2 separate regions of the Homo sapiens genome follow, and region 2 is linked to region 1. Evidence: promoter capture Hi-C in human tissues and cell types (Jung and others, 2019). All regions are on one chromosome and are shown on one strand. Each heading gives the region's core, a stretch centred on a gene start or on the middle of the fragment in contact. The rest is flanking DNA. Distances are from core to core; before and after follow the strand shown. Region 1 holds the start of GOLM1 (golgi membrane protein 1). Region 2 overlaps TUT7 (terminal uridylyl transferase 7).

Region 1 (2,700 bases), core at 201-2,700:
AGGAGAACAAAATGTATCTTAAAAGCTAACCTCTTTTCTTTAACCATCCTAACAATTCAATTTTTGTTCACTGACACCTTAAGAATTGAGTGTCTGGCCTAAAAACAGTAAGTCTTAGCAAGTTACTAGTTTCTATTAAGAAAGAAAGTAATGAGCTTAGCTTCATCTTTTATAACACAACTGGAAGAAGCTAGGATGCCTTTGGAGACCCACAAAAACTGACAAGAGATTGTCCCATGCCCTCCAAAATTCAGAAATACTAAAACTGAGATTTGAGCCAACCTGATGGCCATGAGCTAAACAAAGCCACTCAAGCGCTGCTAAATACTTCATCAGGTTATTGTGTATCTCACTAATCCAGCCCTAGAAATGTTCCTCAATAATGTGCATAATGTAGGGCCTAGGGACCCCAAATCAGACAAAGAAAACCTCAAAATCGTGAAAGTCACACAAGTTTAGTTTTGCAAATCTGGCTATGGGACATCTGAAATTGTCCAGCATCATCATGGTATTTCAAATATAATAATTCTTAAATTTTGCTAAAAAATTTCATCAAAATTGTTATTCTTCACATTTTGTTTCTTAAAAGCAAATCATTAAAAATATTAAATGGGATATGATTTTTACAGCAGGGCAAAGTTGTGTGGATCCTCCACGTTGGCAAAGGTGGAAACACAGGTATGCGAGAAAACCCCGAGCATCCACGAGAACGGGATGCAGCCGCGCTCTGGACGCGCGGCGGGAGGACCCGGAGCCCAAGCTCCGGGGTCACCAGCCACGAGGCCCAGCGGCAACGTGGACCCCAGGGCGGCCGGAGCGCGCCTGGGGCTGGAGGGGAGGAAGAGGCGGCGGGAGCCGAGAGACTCGCGGCTCGGCCAGCCTCCCGCGCCTGGTGCAAATCACGCTGCAGAACTGGAACTAGTGCGACTTAGGGGGTGCACGCTTTTGACTTTGGATGCCGACGCGCGTGACAAAGCTCAGAACAAAAAGACAGGCCCCGCATCGCCTGAGACTGCAGGGCAGGGAATCCTCGCGAGGCCCCTCATCGCAGGGCAAGGGGGCCGCGCGCCCGGTCTTGGGGAGCGAGCCGAGGGGCCCAGGCAGCCGCGGGCTACTCGGTGCAGGAAGGTGCGGAGCCAGCCCCGAGCGCAGCCAGCGAAGGTTGCAGCCCCGGCGCAAGCCGCGGGGAGGCTCCGGGGACCGACGCGAGGTCTCGGCGCGCGGGGTACGGGCCCTGGGCAAAGGAGGGAGGAAGCGATGGACCGCGGTTCGGGCAGCCTGGGGCCGCGCGCCGCCCACTCACCTCTTTTCGAGGCTCCGGCCGCCACTCGGGGATCCGGGGCCCCGCTACGAGGCCGCCCGGGTCGCTCTCCCGCCGCCGCCGGCCTCGAGCTCCGGCCGGCTCCGCGCCGTGCGCCCAGCGCCTCCGCGTCCAGCGCCGCCGCGTCTCCGGCCTCCGCAGCGGCAAGGCCCCGCCCCCGAGCAGCGCCGGCGGCGCGAAGGGAGGAGGCGGCGCCGCGAGCGCGGAGAAGCGAGGCAGGGGCTGCCGGGGCCGCGCGGACTCCCGGCCCCACGGTGCGCGCGCCCCGGCCGGTGGCCGCCCCTCGGCGGGAGCAGGAACGCCAGCGTGCGCCCAGTTCTCGCCGCTGGGCGTTGCCCCTTCCCCCGGGCCACCCCATCGCCCCTTCCGACGCGGGAGCTGGCGCCTGAGCAGCGACGCGGAGCGGGGAAGCGGCTGTGGGGAAAGGGTACCTGGGGGGAGCCCCCATCCCACGTTCCGCCCCGAGGGAATGTTCCCGAACAGCCAACCGCACCCAGCGCCACACTCACGTTACCTTCTTTATAAAAGTCGTCGGGTCAAAACTGCCCAGAGAAGGAAGCGAACGAAAAACAGGTTTTTAGGGGGCTTATACTCACAAAATTGTCTTTTTTCTCCCACGAGGCATTCCCTGTTGACCATCATCTCGCCTCGGTTGTCACCGCTCAGGCCTTAGTGTTTGGTCTGTGACCCTTCCACTGCTAGCAACGGAAAAAGTGAAGATTCCCGGACGCCTTCGGGTGTGATCTTATAGCCCGGGCAGCTGCATTTGAAACAGCGCCTCAGATGACGCTCAGGCGCACTGATGTTTGAGAAGCCCTATGAGGCCGTACCTCCCGGAGAGAATGCCACAAAACTAGTGACCTACAGGGAAACCATGCTAGAAAATTCTAAAGCAATGGTTCTTAACTCTGGCAGCACCTGCCATCCATTAGAATTATTTGGGGAGCTTTTAGAGCATTTAGGAACCAGGGTCCCACTTCCAGAGTTCAAAGTGAACTTGATATTTTTTGTTTGTTTTGAGCTTCCCAGATAATCCTAATACAGTATACGGCCAAGATTGAGAACAGTTTTCCTAGAATCATGTCTTCATGTCTTCCTAGCTCTGGTGTCTGGGAAAGGAAACTCCTTCCTCTGCGCCTCTCTCAAATCACAATAAAAAAACAAGTAAATACATGAACACCTAAAGGAATGCTCACAGCTGAAATTGATTTTAACCAGAACAAAGAGTCACCTTAAAAAAGGTGATCAAGATACCCTATTGCTACCTGAGCATGGAGCTTCTTAACTGCAGGAAACGTATCTTTACCAGCTAAAACCTCTTAGCTGAATTAGAAGCTGACCATACATGACCCCTTTAGAGGAATGTTCTACTATATTCC
Region 2 (2,749 bases), core at 117-2,616, 220 kb after region 1:
CCAGGCTCAAGCCATCTTCCCACCTCAGCCTCCCGAGTAGCTGGGACTATAGGCATGTACCACCATGCCTGGCTAATTTTTGTAACAGTAATGTAAAATTTAAGATGTCCTTTTTTAAAGAATCTAAGAAGTGCTCTTGAAACGGAAAGTAATTTAAACATGGGATCTCCACCTGGGTTTCCTGAAAGACACCAGGGTTACAGAAAGGGCCTTCAGAAATCACCACCCCGCTAAAGTGTGAATTTAAAAGTTTGTGAGCATTTGCATGTATTTTTTTCCCTAAGGAGAACCTAGTTTTTTTAATAGCTCATAATATAAAAAAAAAAAATTTCCCAAAAAAAAAAAAAAAAGGACTTGTTAAGAACACGTGTCTTCTGACACGGATGAACACCTTATGATGAAGCCATGTGAAACAAGTTCCTTCATTTTAAGCAGCTGAACATCTATCCTTTAAATATTTTCTTTTGTAAAACTTTAAGGCTCTCTACACCAATGCTTCCCCAAATTTGTGTTCCTTAAAGGGCTGTTAAGTAGGCTATTAATTAGCGTTACTCAAAAATTATTCTATGTTCAAATTTTAGAAATAATATTTCTCAGATACCTTCAATATGCTAATATGTCCTGGAAATAACCCAGGAATTCTAAGAGAGAAGGGAGTGTGTAGTGTTATTCCCTCGCTGGCCTAGGTATACTTCTGGTGATGAAATATTATTAACTGCCATCTAGAAAAACATTTCAAAGAATGCCAGCTGGGAAATGCTACTACTCTAATTTTAAGACTTAATAAAAGATCCTCAGCAAGGCAACTTTCGGCCCCTCACAGAGACAGTACTTTGAAATTCATATTGAGATTTTACCCTCTCTTCCAACGATTTTGGGAAAATTATGAACTGAGACTCTTCAGAAAATATCTTTCTTCTGGAAAAAAATGTCGCTCCCTTACCCTCATCCTTACTTTGTATCCTGGCTTATAACAGGCCATGCATTTTTGTAGCAAACTTTTCAAAAACAATTATATAACCTGGTCCCTTCTTTCTGGGGCCTGGATCTGCTTACACAGCAGGAAGAATAACACCACCAACCTTTACATAGCCCAGCTAGCCAGGGAAGTGTGTCCAGGCTTCAAGTAACTTGAATTTTAATTTTTGGCCGGGAGCGGTGGCTCACGCCTGTAATCCCAGCACTTTGGGAGGTCAAGGCGAGCGGATCACTGGAGGTCAGGAGTTTGAGACTTGCCTGGCCAATATGGTGAAACCCCATCTCTACTAAAAAAAAAAAAAAAAATTAGCTGGACATGGTGGTGCATGACTGTAATTCCAGCTACTCAGGAGGCTGAGGCAGGAGAATTGCTTGAACCCAGGAGGTGGAGGTTGCAGTGAGCTGAGATCGCACCACTGCACTCCAGCCTGGGTGACAGAGCTAGACTTTGTCTCAAAAAAAAAAAAATTTTTTTTCTTGGCAGAGTAATGGAAAATTTAAATGGGGAAAGATATTTAATACTAAGCTTTAAAAAGAAACCTGCTGGCCAGGCGCCATGGCTCAAGCCTGTAATCCCAGCTCTTTCGGAGACTCAGTTGGATGAATCACTTGAGGTCAGGAGTTTGAGACCAGCCTGGCCAACGTGGTGAAACCCTGTATCTACAAAAAATATAAGAATGAGCTGGGTGTGGTGATGCATGCCTGTAATACCAGCTACTTGGGTGGTTGAGGCAGAAGAATTGCTTGAGTCCAGGAGTTAGAGGCTGTGGAGAGCTGATATTGCGCCACTGCATTCCAGCCTGGGGGACCGAGCAAGACCCTGTCTCACCATCACCCTCCAAAAAAGGAAACCTGCTATGATTGCTATGTATCTTGATGCAACAACTATGCTGTTAATAAAAGGAAGTACAGAAGGCACTTGATATTAAAAGAAAAATAAAAGATCCTCCATTTGCCTGAGCCCAGGAGTTCAAGACTAGCTTGGGTAACACAGGGAAACTGTGTCTCTACAAATAATGAAAAATTTAGTCAGGCATAGTGGCATGCATCTGTGCTCCCAGCTACTTGGGAGGCTGAGGTGAGAGGATTGCTTTAGTCTGGGAGGTCGAGGCTGCAGTGACTCATGATTGCTCTGCTACACTCCAGTCTGGGTGACAGAATGAGATCCTGTCTCAAAATTTAAAAAAAAATTTTTTTTTAAATAAAAAAGATCCTCCCTGCATCTCTCCTCATCCTTCTTTGACATTTATTGCATGTCCCAAACAGAACAGACATGACATGGAACGCTTGAGGATACAATGGAGAATGGAATAGACTTGGTCCCTAATAATGTTTAGAGACCTAAATAGGATAGTGATTCTAAAGACTCGAGTAAATGTCAATTTAATATTTTGACAAATCAAAAGAAATGTGAATAACTTACTATAACACTGGATACAGACTTGATCTAAGATATTTAAAAACTTGGGTGTTAATGGTGGCAGAGGTTCTAGCTGGATTCTTTTGAAGTCTTCAGGACAGTCCTTCTTTAGATGACCCTCTCGTTTGCATAAGCTGCACACTACCGTAGGAGACTGCAGGAATATGGCAAAGCAAAACAAGACTTAACACTTTATTTGCCAAATAAAGGAGTCTGGAATCATGTTTTAAAAGTACACAGTCACCTATTCACTTTCCAAAGGAAATGAAAATATAACATGCATCCACTCAAATGATCTGAGAGATGGGGACATCCTATAGTATCATTAGGAGAACATAGTGGCTATTTTCA

Evidence for each region. Contacts are between HindIII fragments. The study calls those that stand out against the background at their distance.
Region 2: a contact is called between a fragment that was not itself captured here and the fragment with the promoter of GOLM1 in region 1, in 1 of the 25 tissues and cell types used here (H1 embryonic stem cells).

Annotation. Positions count from the first base shown.
Region 1 is chr9:86,098,108-86,100,807 of GRCh38, forward strand. It overlaps GOLM1 (golgi membrane protein 1), which reads right to left and starts at 1,451. Exons shown (of 10, transcript NM_016548.4): 1 at 1,304-1,451. RefSeq lists an enhancer at 892-1,392 and silencers at 1,023-1,072, 1,233-1,332, 1,343-1,662. The HindIII fragment of the contact is 18,007 bases long and covers 1-2,700 here.
Region 2 is chr9:86,319,924-86,322,672 of GRCh38, forward strand. TUT7 (terminal uridylyl transferase 7) reads right to left here. Exons shown (of 27, transcript NM_024617.4): 14 at 2,402-2,552. Among named protein-coding and RNA genes, the nearest start is that of TUT7, 33 kb to the right of the region's middle. The HindIII fragment of the contact is 3,462 bases long and covers 1-2,749 here.